3 separate regions of the Homo sapiens genome follow, and regions 1 and 2 are each linked to region 3. Evidence: promoter capture Hi-C in human tissues and cell types (Jung and others, 2019). All regions are on one chromosome and are shown on one strand. The core of a region is centred on a gene start or on the middle of the fragment in contact, and the rest is flanking DNA. Distances in the headings are between cores, read along the strand shown.

What was found. Contacts are between HindIII fragments. The study calls those that stand out against the background at their distance.
Region 1: a contact is called between a fragment that was not itself captured here and the fragment with the promoter of SLC35G1 in region 3, in 1 of the 25 tissues and cell types used here (mesendoderm cells).
Region 2: a contact is called between a fragment that was not itself captured here and the fragment with the promoter of SLC35G1 in region 3, in 2 of the 25 tissues and cell types used here (adrenal gland and mesenchymal stem cells).

What each region holds. Positions count from the first base shown.
Region 1 is chr10:94,193,747-94,198,813 of GRCh38, forward strand. The region is part of intron 4 of PLCE1 (phospholipase C epsilon 1); the gene reads left to right. Among named protein-coding and RNA genes, the nearest start is that of PLCE1-AS2, 87 kb to the left of the region's middle. The HindIII fragment of the contact is 7,030 bases long and covers 1-5,067 here.
Region 2 is chr10:94,231,228-94,236,296 of GRCh38, forward strand. PLCE1 (phospholipase C epsilon 1) reads left to right here. Exons shown (of 33, transcript NM_016341.4): 6 at 2,827-3,085; 7 at 4,688-4,893. Among named protein-coding and RNA genes, the nearest start is that of PLCE1-AS1, 53 kb to the right of the region's middle. The HindIII fragment of the contact is 3,973 bases long and covers 1,136-5,069 here.
Region 3 is chr10:93,891,414-93,896,104 of GRCh38, forward strand. SLC35G1 (solute carrier family 35 member G1) reads left to right here and starts at 2,565. Exons shown (of 3, transcript NM_001134658.3): 1 at 2,565-2,798. The coding sequence starts at 2,621. RefSeq lists silencers at 2,539-2,968, 4,454-4,503. The HindIII fragment of the contact is 9,096 bases long and covers 1-4,691 here.

The sequences.
Region 1 (5,067 bases), core at 730-3,229, 300 kb after region 3:
CTTTCCTCTTCTGCCTCCACGGGGTTTAACAACTTTGTCAAATCCCTTCCTCTGAAATCCACTTCTGCAAGTAAGTTGAAACAAATTCGCTCTACTGTCATATAAACACCAGGCGGGCTTCCCTGCTGGGTGCTCAATAGCTTGGTCACCAACCAATGGATGAGATAAGCAGGCTAAAGTCACAGAAAGTGTAGAATGAAATTGTCTTTTTTTAAAGCATTTTTTTATTACATTTTACAGTGTGATTTCTTTATTAACATCTCTTAACAGTTAAAAGATGTTTACTTCACACTGTTTTAAAGTATAATGATATTCAAGTGGGATTTCAAACTAGATGCAGAAACTTAGTTACTGTTCTTATTCCAAACAAGGCAAGATGCCTATTAGGGAGTCAGATACAAGTGACTTTTTGTTATCTGTGCCAATGAGAGAACCAGATATCCTGCTAATAAAAATCCACCCAGAACCAAATTTCTTAATTTGCCTAGTTTCTGCCATCCTTTTCGTGGGGAATTACACAACAACTATTAACAAATGGTTACATTCATTCATTTGCTTTTCACATTCATTTTTTGTCCCTATGGTAATACTAAGAGACAGCCCTCTGTTCTTAATTTTTTAGTTGCTCTTCACTGCTGACCAAGAGGTGTCCAGGCATTTTAACCACATTCAAGGCTTGTCTCTGCAATGTAGCTGTCCTGTTTTCTCCCCATTAATCACTTCATGCCCCTTTTACATCTGTCTACCCGGATGACTCACTGTTGGATTGTACAGGAAGAGGCAAAGACTCTGCACAATTCCAGAGGGCACTGTTCACTTAGTGCACAAGACAGTAGCCCTGGGTAAGAGCCCTGGCTCAGATTTGAATTCAGATCCAAGGCTCACCACTTACTTTCAGTGTGACTCCAGGCAAGTTTCCTAACTATTGTATTCTTCAGTCTCTTCATCTGTAAAGTGGTGCTTATAACATTGATCTAATATGTAGGGATGTTGCAAGAATTAAAAGAGAATTTGAGGAAATGTGTTTACCAAGGTGATTGACCCTGAATCAAGCACTCAATAACTAATGATGATGATAATAATTCTAGACAGCTAATAGCTTGTAATGATTTACTTTTAGAACAGATAAGAAAATTTTCCTTGCTTCCAATACTATCATATTTTAAACTCCATTTAGAGGCTACCAAGAAGTTTGGGGGAAACAGGGGCCACCATTTTGAACTCCTTGATGATTACAAAGGTGGTAGATAGTGGTGCTGATATTAGGGTTGGTTCTACTGTCTTTATCTGGATTCATAGAATATAGGAACTTTATCTAAAGTAAAGTTTTCTCAACACTCTTTGGCCCAGAATGTTAAAGAAAAAAACGTTGTATCCACATTTAATATGATTTGAAACTTCAAAATAGATTTGCTAGCATGAATAAAACCATTTATAACGCTGAATATATACTTCAGAAACATAGCATGTTCTCCCCTCCTCTAGCTACCCTGCTCTAACCCTGTCCAAGACTGTCATCATCTCCTCCCAAGCTGAGAGTCACTGCCTTAGAGAGAAAGGGCAATGGGCTGGTCCGGATTTCTAATAGGGCTCTTCCAGTTCTAGGAGTTTGTGATTTGGGGACTAAGTGCCTAAACCCTGGAGAGCCAAGCCTTCTCCAAACAAGAAAGAAGTCCCTGTGTAAAGAGACATGAGAAATGAAATAGAAGCAGAAGTTTGGATCTAGGAATGTCACCCTAAGAATTAGGGGCTCCTTTTTTTTTTAAGAGGAATGATATGACACAACTCATGTTGTAGGAGGATAACACTTCACTTGGTGATTTCCTTTCTCTGGGATGTTGAAACTAATAGAAAAAGATCATGACATTCATGTAACTCCCTGAAGATTTTGAAGACTTCTTTCTTAGAAATCCTTAAGAAAGCAATACATACCCACCTGCTTGCAATAGTTTTAGGACTATTAGATGATGCTAATCATTATCTCTAATAGTTAAATAACTCTGGATATGAAATCCTGACTTTTGGGAATTTCTTTGATATCTGTACTATACATCTAAAAAAGGTCAGGGAAACTTTGAACAGGATTATGAGTCTAGGCCTTTTGTTCTGTCTCTAGCCAGCTGTGTCATATTGATCAAATCTTTTAGCCCCTCTGAACATCAGTTTCTGCCCCATAAGATAAAGAATTAGGCCAGATGATATCTAATGCTTCTTAGAATTTAGACTCTAGAGTTTGAACTCTCAGAGTTTGAATCCCAGCCACATTGTTTATATGATCTACAAGTTACTAAGTCTTTCTAAGCCTTCCTTTGCCAGCCTGTCAAATGAGGATAATAATTCCTTCTAGTTAGGGTTGTTGTGATCAATAAAAGTCACCTATTGCTATTATAATCTTCTGATACTTAATGTATAAGGTGCATTGTAAGTAATACTGAATCCAAACTAACCTATATACACTACCTCCTTGCTATACACCTTCACTCTGGGCTCAGGGGCTTGCCTTCTATAGGGTGAGGGTTACAGTGAGAGTTTTGCTGTTGCTCTATCCTATGTATTATAGCATAAAGTGTTCTCTTCTTCGTTCCTTTGAGATAATGATTTCTTGTCTGATCCACCCTCAGCCTGGTTGTCACAGCTGGGTAGTGCCCCCAGAGAAGAAGCAGCTGTAGCCCCAGGAGAAGCTCCGAGGGGAAGAGCCTTTTAAAGTGGAAAAGGAGGATCTATAAGCTACCTTTCAGGTGCAAGACTTAGAGAGAGGGCCAGGCATGGTGGCTTATGCCTATAATTCCAGCACTTTGGGAAGCCAAGTCAGGAGGATCACTTGCAGCCAGGAGTTCAAAACCAGCCTGGGCTTTGCTGACCCATCTCTAAAATAAATAAATAAATAAAATTTAAAAATAAAAAAAGACTTTGAGAGAGAGGACCCCACTCAGGTATAATGAGGTGGGACTCACCAGCCCAGAACACCCAATCCCCACCCCTTCTAGAAGTGTTGCTAGAAGTAGAGAAAGCACTCTACTTTCTATACAACATATCTTTTTGGTTTGCCTGTTGCTTTCTGTTTGATATTTGTAACAGCTTTATTGAGATACAATTTATATACTGTATAATACATACATTTAAAGTATACAGGTCAGTGGCTTTTTTCATATATTTACGGACTTGTATAATCATCACCATAAATCAATTTTAGGATATGATGATCACCCCAAAAAGAAACCACATACCCACTAGCAGTCACTCCCCATTCCTCCCTAACTGCAGCTCCTGGAAAATAGTGATCTCATTTCTGTCCCAATGGATTTGCCTATTCTGGATATTTTGTATAAATTGAATCACACAATAAGTGGCCTTTTTTGTCTGGCATCTTTCACTTAAGATAGTGTTTTCAAGGTTCATCAGCATTGTAGCATGAATCAGTACTTCATTTCTTTTATGGCTGAATAATATTTCATTATGTGCGTATACCACATATTGTTTATTGGTAAAAATAATGATGGCCATTTGAATTATGTATACTTTTTGGCCATTACAAATAGTGCTGCTATGAAATTCAAGAAAAATGTTTGAGCATATGTTTTTATTTATCTTGAGTATGTACCTAGGAGTGGAATTGCTGGGTCATACAACTCAATGTTTAGCATTTTGAGGAATTGCCAAACTGCTCCAAAGTGTCTGCACCATTTGACATTCCCACCAACAATGTATGAGGGTTCTGATTTATCCACATTCCTATCAACACTTGCTAGTCCTACAACACATACCTACAGCCATCCTAGTAGGTATGAAGTGATACCTCATGGTTTTGATTTCATTTTCCTAAATAGCTAATGATGTTGAGTATCTTTTCACCTGCTTATATTTGTATATCTTCTTTGGATAAATCTCTGTTCAAATATTTTCTGGCAATATTTCTGACAATGAAGCGTGACATTAAGATATAATCTCATTCTTGGCTGGGTGCAGTGGCTCACGCCTGTAATCCCAGCACTTTGGGAGGCCAAGGCAAGTGGATCACCTGAGGTCAGGAGTTCAAGACCAGCCTGGCCAACCTGGTGAAACCCCATCTCTACTAAAAATACAAAAATTAGCTGGGCATGGTGGCGGGAGCCTGTCATTCCAGCTACGTGGGAGGCTAAGGCAGGAGAATCACCTGAACCTGGGAGGCGGAGGTTGCAGTGAGCCAAGATTGCACCATTGCACTCCAGCCTGGGTGACAGAGCAAGACTCTGTCTCAAAAAAAAAAAAAAAAAAAAAAAAAAAATTTAAGAACATGAAAGAGCTGATGATGAAACCTGTTGGATGAACTGATGAACCACCCCCCACCAAAAAAAAAAAAGATATAATCTCATTCTTTATAGATTGGCTGTTGTCATTCTAAGTCTTTGACTATGAATGTATATGCTAGGTGGGGGAAGTAAGAGCCCACTTCCAAGTATGAACAAGAAGAGAGGGATCAGCACTTAGGGTTCCCACTCTGGTCTGGGATTATATGTATAAACAGGATAGAGAGAAAATCAGTTTTTTCCTGAATATGTGTTCATTCTCAACAGAAGTCTGGACTGGAAGGTAGAAGATCTAGGCTCAATTCCTGCTTCTACTTGGCAAATATGAATAAGTTGCTTAGTAGGTAATTAGCTTCTTTGAACCTTTCTTTTCATCCTCCCCTTTTCAGTTATCTTCTTTCCTTTTTTAAATTGAACTATAATTTACATACAATAGAATTTGCCTTTTGGCATGCAGTTTGAATTTTGACAATGCATACAGTTGCGTAATGACCACCACGATCAGGATAGAGAATATCATTACAAAGGGATGATACTGATCCCAAAAGTTTTCATCCCAAAAGTTCCTTTTGCCTCCTTTGTAGTCATTCCTCCCCTATCTCAAACCTCTGGGATCTGATTTCTCTTTTTATCCTTTTGCCTTTGACAGAATGTAGCAGAAATAGAATCTTACAGTAGGTAGTCTTTTGAGCCTGGCTTTCTTCATTTAGAATGATGGATTAGAAATCCCTCAGCCAGGCATGGTGATGCACACCTGTTAATCCCAGCATTTTGGGAGGCC
Region 2 (5,069 bases), core at 1,872-4,371, 340 kb after region 3:
CCCCCAAGTGAACCATAACTACTTCATTACTCACACAATAAGAAACCAGTGAGAACCATGTCTCATTCATTCATTCACTTCATTTGTTTGTAACCTCCACTTCATTCCCCAAAAAAGAATTCTCACTGTCTTATAAGAATCCAGTTATAGGACAAGCTGGATTTAGTGGGATGAAATCATAAAATGCTTTTACTTTTCTGATTTGATTGCCTTTCAAAGCTTCCAACTAGCTCTCCCTCCCTCAACCCTGGATTATGCTACATTGAGAGATCCTGTAGTTTTCCAGTCACTTTCCTAGTTAACACACAATCTCATTCTCCTATGCTCTTGAATATGAATGAGTCTTGCAAATTTAAGGCTGTATAAAAAAAAAAAAAGCAAGTTGTTTAAAACAGGGATCCCCAGCCTTTTTAGCATCAGAGACCAGTTTCATGGAAGACAATTTTTCCACAGACTCGGGGTGTGGGGGTGGGGGCAGATGGTTTTCAGATGAAACTGTTCCACATCAGATCATCAGGCATTAGATTCTCATAAGGAGCGTGCAACCTAGATCCCTTACATGCACAGTTCACAGTAGGGTTTGCGCTGCTATGAGAATCTAATGCCACTGCTGATCTGACAGCAGGCAGAGCTCAAGCTGTAATGCTTGCTTGCCCGCTGCTCATCTCCTGCTGTGCAGCCCAGTTCCTAACAGGCCATGAGCCAGTACTGGTCTGCGGCCCAGGGGTGGGGACCCCTGGTCTAAGACTATCTACCATGTGATACTATTTACATAAAGTTTAAAAATACACAATTCTGTAACTTGCTTAGTGATATATGCATATGTTGGAAAAGTATTAAGAATTTTAAGGAAAGGAGAACCCCAAAGTACCAGTGGTGGTCCTGTCTGGTGAGGGAAGAATAGAGTATGTGCTCTTGGAGGAATACACTAGGGCCTCAACCACATTGTTGATGTTTGATTTTTTAAACTGAGAGATTGGCACATGGGTGTTTGTCATGTTGTACTTCTTTATGTCTTTGGATGTCTTATATATTACACAGTGATTTTGTAACCCAGTTAATCTAAATCAAAATTTTAATATCTCATTCAATATATATCTTCTTCCCTTCCTTACGTTTCACAACCCAACCAGTCTCAGAGACTTGTAGTAGTGAGGAAGATAGAGTTTATCTTTTTTCTTCCTTTTCCCTGCAACTGGGTGTCTGCAGAAAAGAAGTGGACAGGAGAGGAGATGGGAAAGGATGGGGATAGAGGGAGCACAGAGTCTTACTTGATGGGGCAGTTGTAATCTGGCCTTGGTGCCCTCACAGAGACCAATGGAGGGTGCTTTTAGGTTTTCTTACTAGTTACTCTCTCTAATTTTTTCCATCTCCCCACTGCACAATTACCTAGCAAAATGCAGTGTACCCTCTGGTCAACCTCTTATTCCTCACCCCCTGGGGTCCTGTCCTCACAGGCCCTTTCTGCTAGGGTCGCCTCATTTGGCAGGCAGACCCTTCAAGACAGCTCAAGCCCCACCTCTTTGCACAGTATCCCCTCCTGACTCACAGGAAATAGTCAGCATGTTGCCCTCCCAACTCTGCAAGCACAGGACATATCTACTGGAATCCTCTCTCCCTTTGCCACCAGGGAGCTCCAGCTAGCCTCAAATCTTTAGGCAAGAGTCATGCACCAGTTCACGTGATCTACAGACTGCCCGGGACACAGGTCAATGTCCCCAGGGAATTCACTTACTGCCCCCTGCACTTGGGGTGACTTCATCCTCTCACAGAAAGGTGAGCTCTCCCACAATTCCCCCCAGAGAAATATTCCCAAGCTATCTGCTCAGATCCACTTTCTCTGCATGGGCTGAAAGAGAGTGGGAGACCACTGTGGGCAAAGCAGTTCAGGTAACACCTTGTGAGGGCCTCTCTTTAGAAGGTGTGGTGCATTGTCATCTGTGGGTCTCAGCAGGAGTTTCAGAATAGGGAAAGTCCCACTTAACATCCTGTAATGCAAATAATACTTTACAACAAGGTCCCCCAAAATGGGCTGGTGGCTTCATGTCAAAGCTTGATTCAGTAAAAATCAATTCTACAGAAGAGGTGAAAACAATGGGCTTCATGTTGATCACTAAGGGACTGGATTGATCCAAGAGTAATATTTAAAAGATCAAGAGGGCCAGATGGGCCAAGTTTCCCCAGGCAGTCCTCCTCCACCAATATCTGTACAAACCACATTACCCTCTACTTTCCCCTTTTGGCCATAGCTGCCAGAAAAACTCAAACCTACATTCAGTGCCCAGCTTCCATAACTAACGCGTCCCATATGCCTATTTGTGTTTGTATCTGTCCTATTTATTTTTCAGTTTCAATTTACAAAAGTATTATTCATATTATCTGGGGAAGTAGGTGGGGATAGGAACCCTACATAAATATTAACAAGTAAAGAATATTGGGGCTGGGCGCGGTGGCTCATGCCTGTAATCCCAGCACTTTGAGAGGCCGAGGCAGGTGGATCGCCTGAGGTCAGGAGTTCGAGACCAGCTTGGCCAACATGGCGAAACCCCGTCTCTACTAAAAATATAAAAATTAGCCAGGCATAGTGGCGCGCGCCTATAATCCCAGCTACTAGGGAGGCTGAGGCAGGAGAATCGCTTGAACCCAGGAGGCAGAGGTTGCAGTGAGCCAAGATCGCACCACTGCACTCCAGCCTGGGCAACAGAGTGAGACTCCACCTAAAAAAAAAAAATGGTAAAAAGAATGAATTTGTATGGAATTTAGGCTCCTTGCTGTAAACTATATTATTTCTCCTTCAGTCTGAAAAATGTCATTTACTTGCAATAGGTCAAGAAAAGTTTTAAAAATGTGGCAGTTCATGGACCAGTCTGATATTGAGACCATGAGGAGCCTGAAGGATGCTATGGCCCAGCATGAGTCCTCTTGTGAGTACAGAAAGGTGGTGACACGTGCCCTGCACATCCCTGGCTGTAAGGTGGTTCCATTCTGTGGGGTGTTTCTGAAGGAGCTCTGTGAAGTGCTTGACGGCGCCTCCGGTCTCATGAAGCTTTGCCCGCGGTACAATTCCCAAGAAGAAACTTTAGAGGTAAGGCCTTTCAGAATCATCGTGGCCTGAAGAGCCACTGTTGCTGGCTGTCTCATCAGGCCCTGTCTGTGCTCACCAAAGAAATGATCACTGATTGAACACAGGGTTAATAGTTGTTATATTATTTCTGGGTAGCACATAGATCCTTGGAAGTTCTGTAGAAAAGAATGCCAACTAGCGCTGTGTGGGACATAGTATTGTGAAGTTAGTTTTAATGTATTAGGTTTAATATGTAAGTACAAGTCAAAAAGGGTGTTGTTTTCTGATGGTTTTTAAAGATTGACAGGTTTTTCTTATTGGGTGGGAATGTCTGGATGCAGGGGATGAAGACAGTCAATTGAGAGTATTAAGTTTTCCACATCAGTGGAAGAAAAAAGAGGGGAAGTCAACACTGCTTTCTGTTCATCCTTTGTGGGAAAATGCTGGGGAGCCTGGAGACGCATGTAGAGACAAGCTCCAGGCTCCTGATCCTCAGAGCCTTGTTTCTCCCAGATCCATTGCCTCCTGTTCCTGATTCCCAGAGCAGAAGGGACAGTGTGAGCTTTGACCCAAGGCATTGGGCATTGGAGAGAAGGGGAGTTGAGAAACTGGAGGGAAAAGATAAGGAGGCTCCCTCCAAGGTGTTTAAAAATGAAAGAAGTGACTAAAATGGAAAGAACTTTATGGAGATTTTGAGAAGTCCCTTACCGGGGACCAAACCCAAATCTAGGATCATTCCTGCCATGATGACAGAACCTACTACTGACCTTTCACACACACACACACACACACACACACACACACACACAGAGTCATGTACATGCCTTCTCCATGGAGTGGGAAGACTCTCCTCAACCTTCAGCCTCTTCTTTGTCACCTGGGAGCAAAGGCATCACCTGATATCAGAAAGACTTAAGAGCTCCTGACAGGTACAGGCAACACCACCGGCATCTCTCTGGGTTATGAGCTAGGATAAAAGGGCAAGAAATGGAGGAGAAAGCTTAAAGGAAGACTCCCGGGCCACACCCCCTAGCTTCCTCATGTCTTAAGAAGAGGGAACTCCACATCTCTTATCCCAGACACAGCTCTCACCTCTGATGAGAGAAGCTTCCTAATCAACTGTATGAACAATAAGGCTTAAAGAGCTTAAAAACCAGGAAGAAGCCACTGTGTTATTATAGAACACATGAGCAATAAAGCAAAACATCACCTCTTCTCAGTGTTTTGCTTGGGCCCAGTCATTTTTTCTGGTTCCATAGAATAGCATACTTTACTCATGGTTTTTCTCAGTTCTCACTATAAGGATAAAATAACCATGCTCTTCCTCTGCAAATTGGCTAATCTTCTCCTTAGGGAGCCCTGAAATAATATTTTTTTTGTTTTAAATTTGAAGTGGAGTGTCGATTCCCAGAGGGATTAAAGTTGTCTCAGTGGAAACAAGGGTGAGTTTTGATATTTCATGTGGTGAAATGAAAAAATGTTTTTCCTGGAGGCTCTTGTTTTCTTTCCCATAAAATAGGCACAAATGCCATTATTTATTACTTTATGATTTCATTTCCCTAGCCAAGTATGTTATCCAGGCATATTAAGTTGCAATAGCAAATTCTCGATTTTTTTTTGTAGTTTGTAGCAGATTACAGTGGACAAGATAATTTCTTACAACGAGTGGGACAAAATGGCTTAAAGAATTCGGAGAAGGAGTCCACTGTCAACAGCATCTTTCAGGTCATCCGGAGCTGCAATCGAAGTCTGGAGACAGACGAGGAGGACAGCCCCAGTGAAGGAAACAGCTCCAGGAAAAGCTCCTTGAAGGATAAAAGCCGATGGCAGTAAGTTTTACACGTTAAAAGTGAGGAATGCTCATCTCTTCTTTTTTCCTGTTGATGAGTTGTTTCCTACTTCAGCTTAGTTTCAGATGGACACCTCATCAAAACCTGCCACTTTTATCATTAAGCCACACTTCTTTATCTTCAAACCTTACCAATTCCAAATTCACATTTACCTT
Region 3 (4,691 bases), core at 1,315-3,814:
CTCCTTGCCTTCTCTACCTGGGGTCAGAATCTCATCTGGGTCACTTCAATAGGCTCTGAACTAGTCTCCTCTACAGTCGGGATTTCTGGCCCATCCTGCACATTATGGAGATCTATCTGTCACCAGCTCAATATCACTATCATCACCAAAGACCTGAAATAACAATGTTCAGGAGAGACCTTAACAGCCCCACACCTCTACTGGGTGGAGCTTCAGGACAGCCATGTCTTCTGACTTCTAGTCTGGTCCGCACTTTTTTTTTTTTTTTTTTTTTTTTTTTGAGACAGTCTCGCTCATGTTGCCCAGGATATAGTGCAGCAGCGTGATCTCGGCTCACCGCAACCTCCGCCTCCTGGGTTCAAGTGATTCTCCTGCCTCAGCCTCCTGAGCAGCTGGGATTATAGGCACCCGCCATTACACCTGGCTAATTTTTGTATTTTTAGTAGAGACGGGGTCTCACCATGTTGGCCAGGCTGGTCTCGAACTCCTGACCTCAAGTGATCTGCCCTCCTCGGCCTCCCAAAGTGCTGGGATTACAGGCCAGCTTGGTCCGCACTTTTCTCATTGGTTGCCTTTTATGTCAGCATGGCTGTCAGCTAAATGGGAGAATGAATATAACTGATACCATTTATATATGAAGGTCAGCAGTGGAGGGGAAGGAAGTTAAAGGGAATAAACAGCAGGTATGAAATCATCTCACCACCTTTAATAACTGGTGTAGTACCCATTTTCTTCTCTTCTTCTTCTCCCTTTTCGAGGATGGTGTTGAAAGTGTTGAAAGTGGAGCAGTCAGGGTACTTCCTTCTCAAATCATCACACTTCTTTCTTCTTTACCACACTTCCTAGCCATAATCTTCACCATTTAAGAGGAGGGGACTCTTCAAACCCTTTCCATATCGAAATCTTAGAATGCAATTGTGAAACTGCACTTGACTTCCCAGATATTTGAGGAAGCTTCCTGGTTCTTGCTTTATAATCATGATCTACCACCCTTACCATCCTTCCCTGAAATTTCCCTATCTAAAACAACGACAACAAAACCTGTTACAGATATTTTTGTAAGTAGCCTTAAATTCTTTTAAAAGTATTATTATTTTTTTTATAGAGACAAGGTCTATGTTGCCCAGGCTGGTCTCAAACTCCTAAGCTCAAGCAATCCTCCCACCTCAGCCTCCCGAAGTGCTAGGATGGTAGGCTGAGCCACCGTGCCCAGCCTTAAATTCTCTTTTAAGACAAGGCAAAAGTATGTGTTAATCAAGTTAGAATTCAGGTGACCATTTGTCTCAGTTTGCCTAGGACAGTCCCAGTTTATGCCTATTCCCTTGTGTAACTTTTAAAAGAGCTCCTCCTTTTACTCTTAAAAAAAAAAAGGTCCAGTTTGGAGGATAAATTATATGCTGACCCTAGTTTAAAACACACTTTGATTTTCTAACATAGTGTTTTCCAGGTGATATTATGCTTTTGCCCACATCATTGCATTTTATTTACATAACTACTCTGCGAAGCAGGAAGGGAAATACTTGATCGCTATTAAATAAAGGAGGTAATCAAGGCTTCGAGGGGTACAGTGGTGACTGAGGTCACACACTCAGGGCCAGAACCTAGGATTCCTGACTTCAAGTCTAAAACTGTTTCAGCTGTGGATCACTATGTGCAAATGTCTGAGTAAAGGCAAACTTCACTCTCCTTTGGTGATCTGCTTGGCACTGGACTTAGAAGTTTAGATACGTTCATCCTTGCACAGAGACTGTTCTTCCACATATAAAGCAAGCAAAGAGATGGAAGAAGAATTATTAGCTAAACAAAAAGAGGCTGTTAGTGAATCCTGGGCCAAAGAATATATTTTACCAGGTCTAATTACATCAGATTACTTGAATCTTACATCTGGCCAAATTAGGATATTTCCATTTAAGAAAAGAAAACCAAAGATCAATAATGCATGCCTACTCTTGCAAAGAATGCAAAGAACATATAAATGGGTTCTGGTCAGTCTTATAGATATATTTTCCTATAATTACACACTAATTCTTTCTTAAAAATATTTCCCAAAACAGCAAAATTCTACCCTCCTTGGTAAGCAGCAAAGGGACAACACGGGAAACAAAACAAAACAAAACAAAACAAAACAAAACATAAAAACCCTAGACCATTTAAAGACAAGCATGGTGCTTTGTAAAATCTTCGGGGTATCACAGAGGTGCTGAATGCGTGGTTACATCAATGAAAAAACGCCCACTCTTTGAGCCTCCTGAAAAGGAGGCCACAGGACCCCCGGGCGCCAGGGCTTGGGAACCCAGCGCCCCTCCTTGTCTGTGCCATGACAGACAGGTTCAGTGTGACTTGCCAAGGATGGCTCCAAGCAGCTGGGCCATGTAGCCTGAACGCAGCAGAGGGTTGGACGCCTTAGAGCCAGCTGTGGGCACCACAGCCCGACCAGGGAGGCAGCGGGTCTCCCCAGGTTAAGAGGCCAGCGGAGGACGCGCGCGGTCTCCTTGGGGGAGGGTGCGGGTGGGCCGGGCGCGCATGCGCATGGGCGCCATCGCCCGCCGGAAGAGCGGCAGCCCAGGCGCTGCTGCTGGCGCCAGACGGCACCGGCCGCTGGTAGAGCGCGTGCCGCGAGATGCGGCCTCAGGACAGCACCGGGGTCGCGGAGCTCCAGGAGCCCGGGCTGCCGCTAACGGACGATGCACCCCCGGGCGCCACTGAGGAGCCGGCGGCCGCCGAGGCAGCTGGGGCGCCAGACCGCGGTAGGTGCTGGCTCTGCCTTTCCTCGCCGTGTTGCTCCCGCACCGAGCCGGGTGAGTGCGCGGTGTGGATCGGGCTCTGGTCTCGCTCGGGGGTCCCGAGCGGGCGCCGGCGGGTTGGGGTCCCCGCAACCCGGGCACAGTGCCCGCCGCGCCTCCGTCCCCACCCTGCCCGGGGCTCGGGAAACCCCTCGAGCTGTCAGCTGGGGGGCTGCAAAGCGGAATTCCCGGCGCCCCAGCCGGCGCTAAGACGGAAGAAACTTTCCGATTGTTAGCAGTCCTTTTGGGATTCCGAGGCTGCTCCTGTAATTAGTGTCGGGGCAGGGCTGTGGAGTCAGACTGCAGTTTGGCGTACCCTCCCCTAGGTCGTAGGTGGGGGGTCAGCGAGAGAGGCCATCCTGCAGTGGGGCGACGTTGCGAGGAAGCTGACCCTGAAAAGTGATCCCGGTGGTTAAGGGTTCTCTCCGAAAAGGAAGCTGAAAAGCATCGAGTCTAGAAAAAATGTTCGTCCTAGAGTTTTAGAATCTTGGAAAGGCAGAGATAAGTGGGACCGCTAGTTTTTAACCTTTAGGGATACAAGGACTTTTTAGCAAACGATGCAGAACAAGGCATATCTTGTTAAGAAGCTCACAGCCCCGTCCCCAAAGTCAGGGACCCCTCGTGAAGAACACTTTATGTTCAGTCCCCCTCCTTCGACACATGAGCAAAGTGAGGCCCAGGAAGGTGAGGGCTTTTGGGTTTTCGTTTGCTTTGTCTCCTCCAAGATGTGGAACGTGGGGGTGAGATGGGGCGCATGTCCAGGGAGCACCAGGGTTAGGATCCCAGCTTGCCATATACCGGCCTAGGGCCCTTTCCACTGGCCACAAGTGCTGCTTCAAGCACATTCCTCTTAGAAGTCGACCATCTACCAGGAGCAGCTTCCTGCAAGAAGAAGGGAATAGGCAGATCTCTTTTTAGGACAGTTACACGGCCTGCACCACCTTGTCCTCTGGGTCACCTCCCCTAAGTGTGACCCTGGATTTCTGTTCCTCTCCTCTCACTGCGCTTTCCCCTCCTCCCTTTGTGCACTTTCCCCAAGTTAGAGAGACAGACTCTAGGAAGACTATTCTTGCTCCATTTCTGTCCTAAAGGCAAACCGAAATGATCAGACTTGTGATCATTTATAAATGGGCTGGTGCCTCTAGAACAGGGGTTATGCCAGGCTGAATTGAACAGATAAGCAGCCTTTGAAAAGGTCAGTTTCTCACCTATCACCCTCTGGGTGAATGTCCTTCTGGTGGCATGCCGAATCAGTCCATGCAAACTCTTAAAGTTTCCCCTTTTTGTGAATGGAAGAGGAATTCTCTACTCCCAGGCAGCTCATGGCAAGATGAGAAACTTACGTGAGTGTATCTAAGAATCTTGTGGGTGTTTAACTTCAAAGAAAGTTTCTACCAGTAAGACTTAGTTATTGTAAGGTGACAAGATAATATTTTGGAAAGAAAATTGACATAAAAACACTTTACTGTTGTCATTGAACTTTGTGACACCTCTTGTTCTAACTGCTTATCTCAACAAAGCTTTTTTCAAGTTCTGGTTGGAACTGTTACCCATATGTCTTACATTCTTGGATGACCTTAACAGACACATACAGCTGTCCCAAGACATCTCCTTACTTTCTTCAGGGACAGTGTGGGTCTTACACTGAAGCAAGGAGAAGTAGTTTCTTAGGCCTGTGCCTCACATCCTCTGGAGGGAGTTAGTGATCGAGTGTAGCAGTGGTTCTCAAACTAGTGGAGCCTTTTAGAGTTACAGAGATTCTATTTCGGTGGGTCTGAGATGGGGCTTGAGAATTAATTTTTTTTTTTTTTGGAGATAGGGTCTTACTCTGTCACCAAGGCTGTGGTGCATTGGCGTGATCACAGCTCACGGCGACCTCAACCTCCTGGGCTTACTCGATCCTTTCAT